3 separate regions of the Homo sapiens genome follow, and all the other regions are linked to region 1. Evidence: promoter capture Hi-C in human tissues and cell types (Jung and others, 2019). All regions are on one chromosome and are shown on one strand. Each heading gives the region's core, a stretch centred on a gene start or on the middle of the fragment in contact. The rest is flanking DNA. Distances are from core to core; before and after follow the strand shown. Region 1 holds the start of FAM83C (family with sequence similarity 83 member C). Region 2 overlaps MMP24-AS1-EDEM2 (MMP24-AS1-EDEM2 readthrough). Region 3 overlaps MMP24-AS1-EDEM2 (MMP24-AS1-EDEM2 readthrough).

Region 1 (5,043 bases), core at 1,734-4,233:
AAATGAGATACCTAGAGGAGTCAAATTCATAGAGACAGGAAGCAGAATAGTGGGCGCCAGGGGCTGGGGGAGGGGGAAATGGGGAATTCGTGTTTAGTGGGTACAGAGCTCTAGTTTTGCAAAGTGAGAAGAGTTCTAGAGATGGATGGTGGTGAGGGTTACACCACAGTGTGAATGCACTTACGACACTTAAAGCGTACCACTTAAAAATGGTTACAATAGCAGATTTTGGCTTGGTGCAGTGGCTCACACCTGTAATCTCAACACTTTGGGAGGCGGAGGCAAGAGCATCGCTTGAGGCCAGGAGTTTGAGAGTAACCTGGGCAACAGAGCAAGACTCCATCTCTAATTCTTTTTTTTTTTTTTTTGAGATGAAGTCTCGCTCTGTCACCCAGGCTGGAGTGCAGTGGCGTAATCTCAGCTCACCTCAACCTCTGCCTCCCAGGTTCAAGCGATTCTCCTGCCTCAGCCTCCCAAGTAGCTGGGATTATGGGCGCCTGCCACCACAGCCACCTACTTTTTGTATTTTTATTAGAGATGGATGGGGTTTCACCATGTTGGTCAGTCTGGTCTTGAACTCCCAACCTCAGGTGATCCGCCCACCTCGGCCTCCCAAAGGGCTGGGATTATAGGCATGAGCCACAGCGTCTGGCCACGAATTATTTTTTAAAGGCAAATTTTATGCGTATTTTACCACAATTAAAAGATACAGAGCCAAAGATATGTACCTGAAGTAGATGTATACACACTGCAAGATAAACAAAACTAACTCAGTGACACGCAAACATGCCTCCCTCCCTCCCGGGAGCACTTCTACCACCCAGATAAGACCCTGGTTGGTCCTCCCCTTCAAACAAATCTGGAGATAAGGCCCTAATGATGGCCCTGCCACCTCGGCTGCCCCCACAGCTCATCACCCTCCCACGGTCTGGCTTTGTTTACTCAACCTTCTGCCCCTCTTGCAGCCTCCTCACCCCCATGGAAGGGCCTCCTTGGAGTGCCCGGTGCTCCTGCACCTGGGATGGGATGGAGTAGGCCATAACTCCTGACCTGTGGCTCCCCCATGCTCCCCCAGGCCCTTCACTTATAGGGTCCTTGAAGACACAGCCCTAGCCCCATTCACCTTTGGTCCTAGGGCTCAGCTCAACTCCGGAACCTCTAAATCCCACCCAGCTCCCTCCCACTATATGTGTGTCAAGTTCTTTGGACACAGAAGACCCTGTGTTCCGGACATGATCGCAGACCAGATAAACCAAGTGCGCTTAGTGCTAAACAGGCTGCGAGGCACGGCTTTAGGTCTTCTGCGCTTCCCGCCATCCTCGCTGGACCTCATGCCTCCGTGGAAAGGTGGTGACCGCTTCTGCCTAGCCTGGCTCCCCAGCTGCAGCTGTCACCTGCTCACCCCCTTCCCCAGAGCAAAGCTGCTCACCATCCTCCGAAGGACACACGGTACATGCTCCAGGACTTTAATCTTTGTTGGGGCAGAGGTCAGAAATCTACCTGCCCTGTTTGCCTCCTGACCTTGCAGTGTGTCCGCCCATTCTCTGAAACAACCTTCCAACCATTTTCATACTCAGCCCTGGAGGAGGGGAAGAAGGCTGGGGTCTGGCCACCACCAGGCCAAGAACATCCCTGGAGTTAAGGGTGTTGCAAGCACAGCCATCTGGAACAGCATGTCTCAGGGGTGGGCCTTAGCCCACTGCCCACAGTGCACTGGGCACTTGTTTAAAAACTCAGGAATTTGAGGTTACAGTAAGCTATGATCACATCACTGCTCTCTCTAGCCTGGGTGACAGAGCAAGATCATGTCTCAATTAAAAAAGAAAAATGGCCAGGTGTGGCGGCTCACACCTGTAATCCCAGCACTTTGGGAGGCTGAGACAGGAGGATTGCTTGAGGCCAGGAGTTCAAGATCAGCCTGGGCAACATAGTGAGATCCCATCTCTAAAAAAATTTTAAAAGTAGCCGAGCATGGTAACATGCACCTGTAATCCCAGCTACTCAGGAGGCTGAGGTGGGAAGATCGCTCGAGTCCAGAGAAACTGAGGCACAGCTGTAGTGAGCTGTGATTGCGCCACTGCCCTCCAGACTGGGTGACAGAGCAAGACCCTATCTCAAAAAGAAAAAGAAAAAAGACAAGCTCCAGAAGCCTACGGACACCTTCTGGATGAGAATTTCCAGGAGGGTGGGGCCCGGGGATCTGCATTTCATCACCTCTCACCACCCCTGGGGTCAGGGTGAGAGCCACTGCTCTAGGTTCTTGAAGGACAGCTCCGAGCCGGGGTGGGAGAGAGCCAGGGGGCTGTGAGCACCACAGTTAAGATGATGGAGAGTGGCAGGACGATTATGGGAGCAAAAAGAGGGCTGGCTGGGGGACAGACCAGCGTTGATGTCCTTGGATATTCCATGTGACAGTCGTTCAGCTCTCAGGGCCTTGCAGACTTGAGCCAGGGCACGTGCTATCCACTGTGGTATGTGTTGTGGGGGTCATGGCCGGTCTCTACATCGGCGTTTGGGTGAAGAGTTTATGCAAGTGGATGTGATTACAATGTGTGGTCGGTCTGTGTCAGCCCACACTCCATGTCTGTGTATCGGTCAGTTGTCAGTGTGTCCATCTGCATGGGTGTTCATGTCTTTTCCTGGGTGTCTTGAGTCGCTCACCCACCTGCAGTGTGTGTGCGTGTGCGTGTGAGTGTGTGTTCCTGAGTCGCCTGGGCCCCTCTTGGCTGTAATTCAACCTCTGTGGGTCCCGGGAAGTCAGCATTTGGAGACTTGCTGGGAGCCTGGTGGGGATGGGGCGGCGTTGCTGGGAGGAAGAGAGGGAGGCAGGAGTGTGCACCGAGGGCCTGGCACTGCCGCTTCCCTGGGCAGGCGAGTCCCAACACAGGCAGACAGGTGGGGCTGACCTGACAGGTTCCAGAGGCCAGGGGCAATAGGGTGGAGCGTGGCTCTGATTTAGGGTGGCAACAGTTTGGGGGCCCTGCCACACACACAGCGAGCGGGCGGGCAGAAGGCGGTTCTGCTGGTCTCCTCTTCCTGCTGCAGCCAGCCCAGCGTGCGGGCCATGGGCCCTGCCGGCGGGTGAGGCAGCCGCGTGGCAGGCATGTTCGGAGGCCCGGGGCCTGGGGTCCTGGGAGCCCAGGGCATGGCGGGACCCCTGCGGGGCCGGGTGGAAGAGCTGAAGCTGCCGTGGTGGCGGGAGAGCTCACCGCTGGTGCTGCGGCACAGCGAGGCGGCTCGGCTGGCGGCCGACGCCCTCCTGGAGCGGGGTGAGGCTGCCTACCTGCGGGTCATCTCCGAGGAGCGGGAGCTGCCCTTCCTGAGCGCCCTGGATGTGGACTACATGACCAGCCATGTGCGCGGGGGCCCTGAGCTCAGCGAGGCTCAGGGGCAGGAGGCCTCCGGGCCAGACCGCCTCAGCCTGCTCTCTGAAGTCACCTCAGGGACTTACTTCCCCATGGCCTCTGACATAGACCCCCCAGACCTGGACCTGGGCTGGCCCGAGGTGCCACAGGCCACAGGCTTCAGCCCCACCCAGGCTGTGGTCCACTTCCAGAGGGACAAGGCCAAGAACATCAAGGACCTGCTGCGCTTCCTTTTCAGCCAGGCCCACACGGTAAGGGCCTCATCTCTCCATCACTCATCTCACAGAGGAGGAAACTGAGGTCCAGAGAGGGAAGGGACCAGCCCAAGGCCACACAGCGACTTAGGGGCAGAATGAGGACCAGCACCTCTGGCACTATTAGATTGCAAACTCCTAGAAGGGGGACATCCCATATTTACCTTGGCAACTGCTTGGTACCCAGGAATAGTATGGATGAGCATAGAACAGGGCATGGGTGTCAGGGACTCCACAATCCCCTGAAATGCACACGAAGTGGTGCAGGTTGGAGGGAGGAGTCCTCGCTGCATCTTTACCTTGGAAGATGCTCCACTGCCTTAAATCAGATTCTCAAAAAGTTTTATGATCCCCACACTAAGAACTCCAACCTTGGGGAACATCTGAGTCACCTCCTTCACTTATAGAAGAAGAAACTGAGGCCAGAGAGGGGCTTGGGACTTGCCCAGGGAGGTCCATATGGTGACATAGAGCTCAGGGCTTGGGGAGACAGGGGCTCTCTGACTTGGGTCCTGGGGACCAGTCCGGCCCTCCTTGCTGGCTCAGGTCCCTAGTTGCCCCCTACCCTCCTGCACCACATCTGCAGCTGGGCCTGAAGCAGGGGAAGGGGCCAGCGTGTGGGCCTCTTTGGCGTGGCCTTGAGGGCTGGGCTTTGGAACCAAGGAGGAAGGAGGAGAGGAGGCTGCTGGGCTCAGTGATGGGGAGCGGGAGCTCAGGAGAAAGAGAATTGGGAGGGCAGGTAGGGGTGGTCAGCACCCAGAAAGGCTCTGGCCACACACGAGCACAGCTTCCCTTCTGAAGCCCTGGCCTCCGACTCCAGGGGAATGGACGAGATGATCCCTGGCAGGGTTTGAGGGAGAGTTAGGCTCCTGCTGCAGAGATGGGAAGCCAGGATGCTGGGATCCCACCGGTACTTCCAGAGCCTCCCTGGCAAGCCTTCCTGTGCCCCAGGCAGGGGACGGCCAGGCCTGATTGGCATCAGGAATGGGGTTATTAGTGAGGCTGCTGCTGTCGTCCTCCTCACCCCTGCCTCTTTGATCTTCCTGCCTGTCCTTGTTCCCCCACCCTGGCCAGGCCTGTGCTGTGAACTAGGGCATCCCCCAGTGCCTCGCCTTCTCAGCCCCCATTTAGACCCCTCTATCCTGGGTCAGGAGCCAGGTTCGTGCACTGGGCTGTCATGACTCCTAGTGACCTTGGGAAATGCTGCGTTGCCCTGCAGCCCAATGTTTATAGAGCTCTGTTATGTCTTGAGCATTTTCACATTTAATTCCCTGTAACTCTGAGACATGGCTATCATTATCTCCATTTAACAGATGAGGAAGGTGAGGCTTCCAGAGGTGAAGGGACTCACCCAAAGCTGTGTCACCAGGAAGTGATAGAGTCCAGGTTTGAACCCAGTTCTTTCTGACTCCAGAGCTGGAGTG
Region 2 (5,043 bases), core at 1,179-3,678, 170 kb after region 1:
ATAGGCTTGCACAATCTTAGGGTTAGAGGGAACCTGAGAGGTGTTCTAATTGGAATTTTCCTAATATGGCCCTGTCAAGTGGTTATCTAGTTTTTGCTTAGTTACCACGAGTGACAAGGAGCTTGCTACTTAACAGAGGCAACCTGTTCCATTTGGGACAGGCTGGCAGGAAGGCATTCATGGAAAGTAAGACACTACTGGCCAGATGCAGTGGCTTATGCCTGTAATCCCAGCACTCTGGAAGCCTGAGGCAGGAGGATCATTTAAGCCCAGGGGTTCAAGATCAGCCTGGGCAACATAGCAAGACCTTGTCTCTATAAGAAATATAAATAAATTAGCCAAGAGTGGTGTTGCATGCCTGTAGTCCCATCCCAGCTACCTGGGAGGATCACTTGAGCCCAGGTGGTCGTAGCTGCAGTGAGCCATGATGGCGCCACTGCAATCCAGCCTGGGCAATGGAGTGAGACCCTGTCTCCAAAAAAAAAAAACATAAGGCACCGCTGTCAGGAATCCAGGAGTGCGTTAATCCAGTCATCCCTCCTACCCCAAAACAATGGCAAATAGGAGATAAGGACTACTCTTTCACTAAATTGGCCAGAGCCCTGTACTTTCGTATATGTCTCTCTGATCAGCAGTGTTGGAGCACAGAGCCTAGCCTAAAGGCCTCTGCAGGCTTTTACCTTCCTCTAAGTCCAAATCTGAACTTTGGGCTGTCTCCTTCCTCTAGAGCAGGGATTCCCCAACCCCCAGGCCGTGGACCGGTACAAGTCCATGGCCTGTTAGAAACCAGGCCACACAGCAGGAGGTGAGCTGCGTGTGAGCAAGCAAAGCTTCATCTATATTTATAGCTGCTCCTCATCGCTCACATTGCTGCCTGAGCTCCGCCTCTTGTCTTATCCGTGGTGGCATTAGACGTTCATAGGAGCACAAACCCTATTGTGAACTGCATATGTGAGGGATCTAGGTTGTGTGCTCCTTAGGAGAAGCTGATGCCTGATGATCTGTCACTGTCATCCATCAACCCCAGATAGGGCTGTCTAGTTGCAGGAAAACAAACTCAGGGCTCCCACTGACTCTACATTATGGTGGATTGTATAATTATTTCATTATATATTACAATGTAATAATAATATAAATAAAGTGCACAATAAATGTAATGCACATGAATTATCCCAAAACCATCTCCTACAAGCCCAGTTCATGGAAAAATTGTCTTCCATGAAACTGGTCCCTGGTGCCAAAACGGTTGGGGACCACTGCTCGACAGAGTTGGTCAGATGCACAGGAAAGTAAAGCAATAACTAACATGCTTAGGAGGCCCACATGTGAGGAGAGAAGCGTGATGGCTGGTCATGAGGGCACTGGCCCACCAGCTGCTAGAAGCAGAAGAGGGCTGGGTGTGGTGGCTCACGCCTGTAATCCCAGCACTTTGGGAGGCCAAGGCGGTGGATCAACTGAGGTCAGGAGTTCGAGACCAGCCTGACCAATATGGCGAAACCCTGTCTCTACTAAAAATACAAAAATTAGCCGGGCACGGTGGCATGTGCCTGTAGTCCCAGCTACTCAGGAGGCTGAGACAGGAGAATTGCTTGAACCTGGGAGGCAGAGGTTGCAGTGAGCCAAGATCATGCCATTGCACTCTAGCCTGGGTAACACAGCAAAACTCCCTCTCAAAAAAAAAAAAAAAAAAAAAAGAAGAAGCCGAAAAAAGAAGCAGAAGAGGAGGCCTCCCATGAGGGCACTGTCTTTTCTGCCTTTGAACACACAGAATGTGTTCATCTAGTAATGAATGTACCCTAGTCTGTGCCTTAGAATATGAGCAATTAGATTAGCAATTGTCTAGAGGCCTGTGAGGAGAGGGGAGGAGGAAGTAAGAGAGAACTGGGGAGATAGGCAGAGACCTTTTCTCTAAAATAAGAACTAGAGGCTGGGTGCAGTGACTCACGCCTGTTATCTCAACACTTCAGGAAGCCAAGACTGGCGGATGACTTGAGGTCAGGAGTTTGAGACCAGCCTGGCCAACATGGCGAAACCCTGTCTCCACTAAAAATACAAAAATTAGTCAGGGCTGGTGGCGCATGCCTGTAATTCCAGCTACTTGGGAGGTTGAGGCATGAGAATCCCTTGAACCCAGGAGGCAGAGTTGCAGTGAGCGGAGATCGCACCATGGCACTCCAGCCTGGGTGACAGAGTGAGACTCTGTCACAAAAAAGTAATTAACGGAATAAAATAAGAACCAGAGTTTGCAGCAATAAGCCAAAAGGGACAGAAGCACTGATCAAGCCCAGGAGGAAACAGGACAGGAGAAGGTCAGGGGGAGATGATGGTATAGAAAGGAGACAGGGGTTCTTCTGTCTCTTAGAAAAGATGGATGAAGTAGAAAAACATACTGAGCTGAGGCCACCCTTGAAGTCAACTCTACAACAGTTCTTCAGGTATTTGAAAGCAATAAACACATTTTTTTTGGATTTCCTTATCTCTAGAATAAATATTCTCATCTGGACCCACTCCTGTTGGCTAATATTCATCTTAAGGTAGAGCTCATGTCTTAACATCAAGTTCCAGTTGTGGCATAGAATTGGGCAAGACAAAACATCACTTTTTCTGGCCACAGTGAACTGATGACTACGTCTTTGTTAGATTGACGGTTTGGTGGTTTATTTTATTTTATTTTTTTAATTTTTATTTTTTGAGATAAGGTCTCACTCTTGTCATCCAGGCTGGAGTGCCGCAGTGGCTTAATCATGGCTCACTGCAGCCTCAAACTCCTGGGCTCAAGTGATCCTCCTACCTCAGCCTCCTGAGTAGCTAGGACTACAGGTGCATGCCACACCCAGCTAATCATTTTTAATTTTTGTAGAGACAAGATCTCGCCATGTTGCCCAGGCTGGTCTCAAACTCCTGGGTTCAAACGATCCTCTCACCTTGGCCTCCCAAAGTGCTGGGATTACAGGCATGAGCCACCCACCATGCCTGGCCTGCTCTTGGATATCTCAGCCTTTTCTTTTGGTCCATCCTATCTTAGAACGAGCCTTATGATGCCAAGCTCTTACTCTTCTTTTGAGTTTTAGAATTAGGTTAGACTCTGAGTGACAGGAAAAAAAATAGTAGCTTAATTAGGATAGAAATGTATTTCTCTCTCATGTTCTGGGCTTATATGGCTCGCCATGGTGTCCTTAATCCCACCTAGCTGTTAGAATAGTTAGTGTTGGCAGCCAGGCAGCCTGTGCTTAGCTAAAGTTAGGAATCCTGCTACTAAGGAGGAAGCGGGGAACAGATATTGGGAATTAGGCAACAACCTCCGCCACCTTCTCTATGCCAGAACCTGGCCACCTTTCTCTCCCTTGTGGTGGAAGTCACTGGTCAGCCTTAATGCTGGTCTCCACTGAGCTTCAAGCTTTGGGTATACTGGCTCTGAAACTCAGCACTGGGTGAGGTATCCTGTGTTCCTGCTAGTTGGGGCCTTATGGACAAGATATGGAGGGGAGTAGTCCCTCACGGCCCTAAGAGGCCCCAGGCCATCTCTGTGCAGCCACTGAGTGAGGAGGGTCTGCTTTGGACTTTGCAGAACTTATTGAAAGCGCAATGTACCTCTACCGTGCCACGGGGGATCCCACCCTCCTAGAACTCGGAAGAGATGCTGTGGAATCCATTGAAAAAATCAGCAAGGTGGAGTGCGGATTTGCAACAGTAAGTGTTTGCATGGCCCCAAGAACTGGGAAGAGTCTCCCCTTGCTGCTAAAAAGCCTCTTTAAGGGTAGAGCTTTGGGAGTTCTGACATATCAGCACTAGAAGGGACCTTGGAGATATACATAATGCTCATATTTTACAGATGGGGAGACCAAAGAACAGAGAAGCTAAGTGCCTTGCTAAAGATCTCACAGCTAGTAGAGGTAGAGCTAGAATTAGTTCCTTGGGATCTTGACCCCGGCCCTTGGCATTCCTCCCACAGTGGAGATCTTTGATCTGTTTGAATAGGTGACTTTGAAAAGGTGAGTTTAGCGAAAAGTTTTGTGAGACACTAAAATAGATTTTAAGGGGAATCCAGAGTCCCATAGCCCTATATTCAAACCTGGGACTCCTTAACAAAGCAGTCCTGCTTAGTCTCACAGATATTTCTTGAATGTCTTTCACATGCCAGGCACTCTGCTAGGCCCAAGGGTTACAGCAGTGGCCTTGCTCTCATGGAGCTTACATTTTAATGAGAAAAAAACCATGAATGTGTATCTGGTAGACAGAAGGCCAGTGTGGCTGGAGCGGAGCAAGCAAGGAGAAAAGTGGGAAGAGATAAGGTCCCAGAGGTAGGCAGGGGCTAGATCATGTAGGGTTTTGTGTAAGCCACAGGAAAGAGTTTGGGTTTTTTTTTCTACTTGGAATGTGAACCCTTGGTAGGATTTACAGCAGAGCAGTGACATGATCTGATTTGTATTTTAGAAAGATCGCTTTGGCTGCTTTGTGAAGAATAGATTGAAAGGGTCAAAGGTGAGAGCCATCTCACATCCATGCAGGAACCAAGCAGGCAAGATATAAATATGAAAGTAGAAGAAAATAGTCTGGAAGAAAATCCCCTGAAAAGCCTACAGTGTTGGGGTATGGAATTCAAAACAACAACAAAACACTTATTTTGCAAAAGTTTGTAATGTGATTATATTCTATAAGTAAAATATAGATATGTGTAGGGGAAGAGAGAAGACCTACATGTGGAAGGGAAAAAATAAACCCCTGATATGATTTGGTTTCTAATATGCTGTATTGTGTGAAAAACCAAAATGATAAGCCCACTGGGGCCTTCCTAGGAATGCTGGGCTCATTTCCATGAACATGAAGCCCTTTGGAGGTCTTCCATGGTGAATGATGGGAACAGGGGTCTGACCTTTCTCAAACAGGGCAAGGAAATAATCATCTTGATACATCAAGACCATATTTGAGTCATATTTTTAAATGTAAGATAGAGTCCACTGAGAATGTTTTGTTTAGAAGTATTACTAATTCTGAGAAGCTAAAATAAATGTTTGTAGCAAGTAATCTTAGTCATCCATGCCT
Region 3 (5,043 bases), core at 1,612-4,111, 150 kb after region 1:
ACTCTAATTGATGCACTGGACACCTTGCTGGTAAGTATCTCGTCTGTTTCTTTTCCTTTCCACTGTTACATAACCAACATCCTTCCTCTTTTGGCAGCGTGACTGTGGGTGAAAAATGAATTCCTCTCCTAGGCCTTTTATTTGCATCTCATGATTCTGAAGCGTCCGGCTGTGGTTGCCTAGCTAGATAGGGGAAAAACGAACTACAACTTATGCAGATTCATTTATTTAGCAAACATTTATAGAGGACCTGTTATGTACGGAGAATTGTGATAGGCTTGCATAGCTCTATGGGGGATACAGAGACTTTGACATCTCCTGTTTTCAGAGGCTTACATTCTAGTGGCCATGTTCAATGATAATAAAAGGGTATCAGGCTGAGCATGGTGGCTCACACCTGTAATCCCAGCACTTTGGAAGGCCGAGGCAGGCAGATCACCTGAGGTCAGGGGTTTGAGACCAGCCTGGCCAATATGGTGAAACTCCATCTCTATTAAAATACAAAAAATTAGCCCAGCATAGTGGCACATGTCTGTTATCCCAGCTACTGGAGAGGCTGAGGCAGGAGAATTGCCTGAACCCGGGAGGCGGAGGTTGCAGTGAGCCGAGATTGCACCATTGCACTCCAGCCTGGGTGACAAGAGTGAAACTTCATCTCAAAAAAAATTATAAAGAAATAATATCAGTGACTAGTTAGTATGTTTCTGTAGGGCTTAGTACAGACATGTATTAATTCTTCTAACAACTTCTTGAGGTTAGTACCTTTACTCCTTCTTATCGTTAAGAAACCTGATGCTTAGGGATGGGCACAGTGGCTCACGCCTGTAATCCCAGCACTTTGGGAGGCCAAGGCGGCAGGACTGCTTGAGCACAGGAGTTCAAGACCAGCCTGGGCAATATGGTGAAACCCCGTCTCTACCAAAAATATAAAAAATTAGGCATGATGGCACATGTCTGTGGCTCCATTTGTTAGGGAGGAGGGTGAGGTAGGAGGATTGTTTGAGTCAGGGAGGCAGAGGTTGCAGTGAGCCGAGATCGCACCACTGCACTCTGGTCTGGGTAACAGAGTAAAACCCTGTCTCACACAAACAAAAAAAAGATATAAAAGAAACCTGATGCTTAGAAAGGTAAAAAGGGCCAGGTGTGGTGGCTCATGCCTGTAATCCCAGCACTTTGGGAGGCCAACATTGCTCAAGTCCCAGAGTTCGAGGCTGTGATGAGCTATGATCACACCACTGCACTCCAACCTGTGTAACAGAGCAAGACCCTGTCTCAAAAAAAAGACTTGGACTGGTTCAGGTCAAGTACCCACTCCACAGCTAGAGGGATGGGATCAGCCTCTCCCAAACCACAGGAGTGACTGCCGGGGAAGAGTGATTCCTCGAGGGTAAATTGAGATGTTACTATCAAAAGAAGAGAGATTGAGATTGCATTTGGCTAACGGTTTAAATAAAGAGGGTTTATTTTCTCAAGTAAAAGAAAGTCTAGAGGTAATTTCTAGCATTGGGTCAGCTACGCAACTGTGTCATTAGAGACCAGCCTCTTTGTAGCTTTGCATTCTAGTATCGTTAGTGTTTTGGCTTTTATTCTAATGCTTAGTACGTCATGGTCTCACATAGCTGCCATCACTTCAGAAATCGAGTCTGAGTTCAAGGCAGAAAGAGAGAGACTAAAAGCCATGTTAGCTGTGTTTGTCCCTTGGTATTAAGAAAACAGAAGCCTTCCCAGAAGTGCCCCCAGTAGACCTCTCAAGGGTCAGAATTGACTGGGTAACACAATCAACTGCAGCAGCAAAGGAGGCCGAGAAAGCTTCTGGATTTCCAACCTCTGGTGGGAGGCCATGAGGTAAAGAGGGTAGGAATGAATTTGTTTTGGGCCAACCAACCTGTTCTGTTTTCCACAAGGTTGAAGGTGACAACTGGTATCTACTGCAAATGTCAAACTAAGACTTTTGGCCAGGTGCGGTCGCTCACACCTGTAATCCCAGCACTTTGGGAGGCCAAGGCGGGTGGATCATGAGGTCAGGAGTTTGAGACCAGCCTGATCAACATGGTGAAACCCCGTCTCTACTAAAAATACAAAAATTAGCCGGGCATGGTGGTGCATAATCCCAGCTACTCGGGGCTGAGGCAGGAGAATCGCTTGAACCCAGGAGGCGGAGTTTGAAGTGAGCCAAGATCACGCCACTGCACTCTACCCTGGGCAGCAGAGCGAGACTCTGTCTCAAAAAAACGAAACAAAAAACCTAAGACTTCTATGCGTAGTTTGCGTTCTTTATATTGTGTCCATTTAAATGACAACATCGTGACTCTTAATTGGGACCTAGGAATTTACTTAACCAGTCTCTTGGTATGAAGTCTCTAGATGATTTCTAGCTCTCAGTGTTTTCTTCTGCTGTCACCAATCCTAGGACAGAAACTGGAGGTCTTAAGTGGAATTAGTGAGGGCCACATCAACATAGGATCCCAGACTCTGAATCTGCCTCCATGCATGTAAGAGCCTCATTGTCAGGTCTCTTTTTTATTTCCAGATTTTGGGGAATGTCTCAGAATTCCAAAGAGTGGTTGAAGTGCTCCAGGACAGCGTGGACTTTGATATTGATGTGAACGCCTCTGTGTTTGAAACAAACATTCGAGGTAAGGGCTGCTCTCTAGGACCTTTAAAAGAAAAAAGAGTGTGAAGTTGCCTCTGTAAACCAAGAAGTGGTAAATAGGATTTTAAGGACTGACCATGCCAGGACCCTTGGCCAAAACCTCTGACCGACAGAGCTCTTCTTCCCTCCTGGAGGGTGAGGTGGGGAAGTCTCAGGATTTCCCCATCAGTTTCAGATATGAAAGTGAGCAGGAGACTAAGAGACTGGAAAGAAATACACCAGATTACTCACCTCTTTAATATGTATTTGATACTAGGCATACAGCTATGAACAAGAAAGATATGATCCTTGCCTTCTTGGAACTTATTGTCTGTCCAATCCAATTTTCTGCAGTGATGGAAATGTCTTATAGCTGTGTTTTGTCCAGTATGGTAGCCACGAACCACATGAGCTATTGAGCATTTGAAATGTATCTACTACAACTATGGAATTGAATTTTTAATTTCATTTAATTTTAATGATATTAAATTTAAGTAGTCACATGTAGTTAGTGATTATTGTATTGGACAGTGCAAATCTACAGCATTAATCTTCCAAACTTGGCAGCCCATAGGAACCACTCCCAAGTGGTTAAAAAATTCAGATGTTGAGACTCCACCCTAAACCTAATGAATTGGAATCTCTGTGTTGGGTCCTAGAATCAGTATTTTTAGCAGACTTCCAGTGATTCTTGTGAAGCCAGCACAGCCCTTATTTGCATCGAACCTCTAGACCACTTAACAGCTGTCACCTCTGGATGGCAGAGTTCTATTTTTCCCCATTATTTTGTATGTTTTCTGCAATGAAACTTATATTCCAGACATATGATCCATAAAAGATTAAAAAAGAGAAGAGAGCAGAGGGACAACATGGTCTAAAATCCTGGTTTAGGAATCCGGCCTGAGTTTGAGGCTGTACTTGCTGCTATGTCTCCCAGCTTCTGAGCCCAGTTTGTCATCTGTAAATGAAGGTCATTCTTATACCTTTATTTCTGATAGGAATATAAGTGATACCAGCTTTCTTTTGGTTGACATTTTCCCATGTATCTTTTTCTATCCTTTCCATCTTTCTGTAGTTTTATGATTAGATACATCTTTTGCAAATAGTGTATTATATTTTGTTTATCCATTCTGACAATCTTTAACTGGCACATTTAATCCATTTACATTTACTGTAATTACTGATATATTTGCACTCATTTCTACAGTATTGTGCTCTCTGTGCCGTCTTCTTTTTTTTTTTTTTTTTTTTTTTTTTGAGGCGGAGTCTCACTCTGTCGCCCAGGCGGGAGTGTAGTGGTGCAATCTTGGCTTACTGCAACCTCTGCCTCCCGGGTTCAGGCGATTCTCCTGTCTCAGCCTCCTATGTAGCTGGGATTGCAGGTGCCTGCCACCGTGCCCTGCTAATTTTTGTATTTTTAGTAGAGATGGGGTTTCACCATGTTGGCCAGGCTAGTCTCGAACTCCTGACCTCAGGTGATCCGCCCCCCATCAGCCTCCCAAAGTGCTGGGATTATAGGTGTGAGCCACTGCACCTGGCCCTGTGCCATCTTCTTTATGTTCCTTTATTCTGTCCTTTTTCATGCCTTCTTTAGATTGTTTTCCCCCCATTCCATTTTCCTCTTACTAATATGGAAATTATGCACAATATCTAGCTTTTTACATAGTTTTCCAAGCAAATTTAACAAACATAACTTATCAAAGTCTAAATTTAATGAAAATCTTTGTTCTCCTCCTGAATAATGCAAAACCTGACTTAGAGAACATCCTGACCTATATGCTACAGTTATATATTTTAGTTATTTGTTTTAAACCTTCCATACATTATAATTTTTGTTCTATATTGTTGAAGTTTTGCATTTACACATAAATTTACCACTTTTTTTGTTGTTGTTGGTTTGAAATAGAGTCTCACTCTGCCACCCAGGCTGGAGTGCAGTGGCGCGATCTTGGCTCACCTCCACCTCCTGGGTTTAAACGATTCTCCTGCCTCAGCCTCCAGAGTAGCTGGGATTACAGTTGTGCACCACCACACCAGGCTAATTTTTGTATTTTTAGTAGAGATGGTGTTTCACCACATTGGCCAGGCTGGTCTCAAACTCATGATCTTGAGTGATCCACCTGCTTTGGCTTCCCAAAGTGCTGGAATTACAGGTTTAGCCACTGTGCCTGGCCTATTTACCACTTTTTTGACTATTTTTTCTTTTCGTGTCTCAGACCTTTTCTCTAAAGTATTTCCTTTAGAATTTCCTTTAATGCAGGTGTGTGCTTCATAAACATTCCCAGCTTTTGTTTATATGAAAATGTCTTTATTCAACTGCCTTTGGTTGGCCTTTGAGTGATATTTTTGCTGGGTGTATGGTTCTAGGTTGATGGTTACTTTCTCTTATTGTGTTAAAAACTTTTTCCATT

What was found. The method cuts DNA at HindIII sites, captures the fragments that hold promoters and counts their contacts. A contact is called where the count stands out against the background at its distance.
Region 2: a fragment that was not itself captured here is called in contact with the fragment with the promoter of FAM83C in region 1 in 1 of the 25 tissues and cell types used here (aorta).
Region 3: a fragment that was not itself captured here is called in contact with the fragment with the promoter of FAM83C in region 1 in 1 of the 25 tissues and cell types used here (bladder).

Annotation. Positions count from the first base shown.
Region 1 is chr20:35,290,365-35,295,407 of GRCh38, reverse strand. It overlaps FAM83C (family with sequence similarity 83 member C), which reads left to right and starts at 2,983. Exons shown (of 4, transcript NM_178468.6): 1 at 2,983-3,616. The coding sequence starts at 3,104. The HindIII fragment of the contact is 12,597 bases long and covers 1-4,581 here.
Region 2 is chr20:35,117,245-35,122,287 of GRCh38, reverse strand. It overlaps MMP24-AS1-EDEM2 (MMP24-AS1-EDEM2 readthrough), which reads left to right. Exons shown (of 15, transcript NM_001355008.2): 14 at 3,569-3,690. EDEM2 (ER degradation enhancing alpha-mannosidase like protein 2) reads left to right here. Exons shown (of 11, transcript NM_018217.3): 10 at 3,569-3,690. Among named protein-coding and RNA genes, the nearest start is that of TRPC4AP, 27 kb to the right of the region's middle. The HindIII fragment of the contact is 4,711 bases long and covers 73-4,783 here.
Region 3 is chr20:35,139,966-35,145,008 of GRCh38, reverse strand. MMP24-AS1-EDEM2 (MMP24-AS1-EDEM2 readthrough) reads left to right here. Exons shown (of 15, transcript NM_001355008.2): 7 at 1-30; 8 at 2,531-2,636. EDEM2 (ER degradation enhancing alpha-mannosidase like protein 2) reads left to right here. Exons shown (of 11, transcript NM_018217.3): 3 at 1-30; 4 at 2,531-2,636. Among named protein-coding and RNA genes, the nearest start is that of EDEM2, 4.8 kb to the left of the region's middle. The HindIII fragment of the contact is 7,283 bases long and covers 1-5,043 here.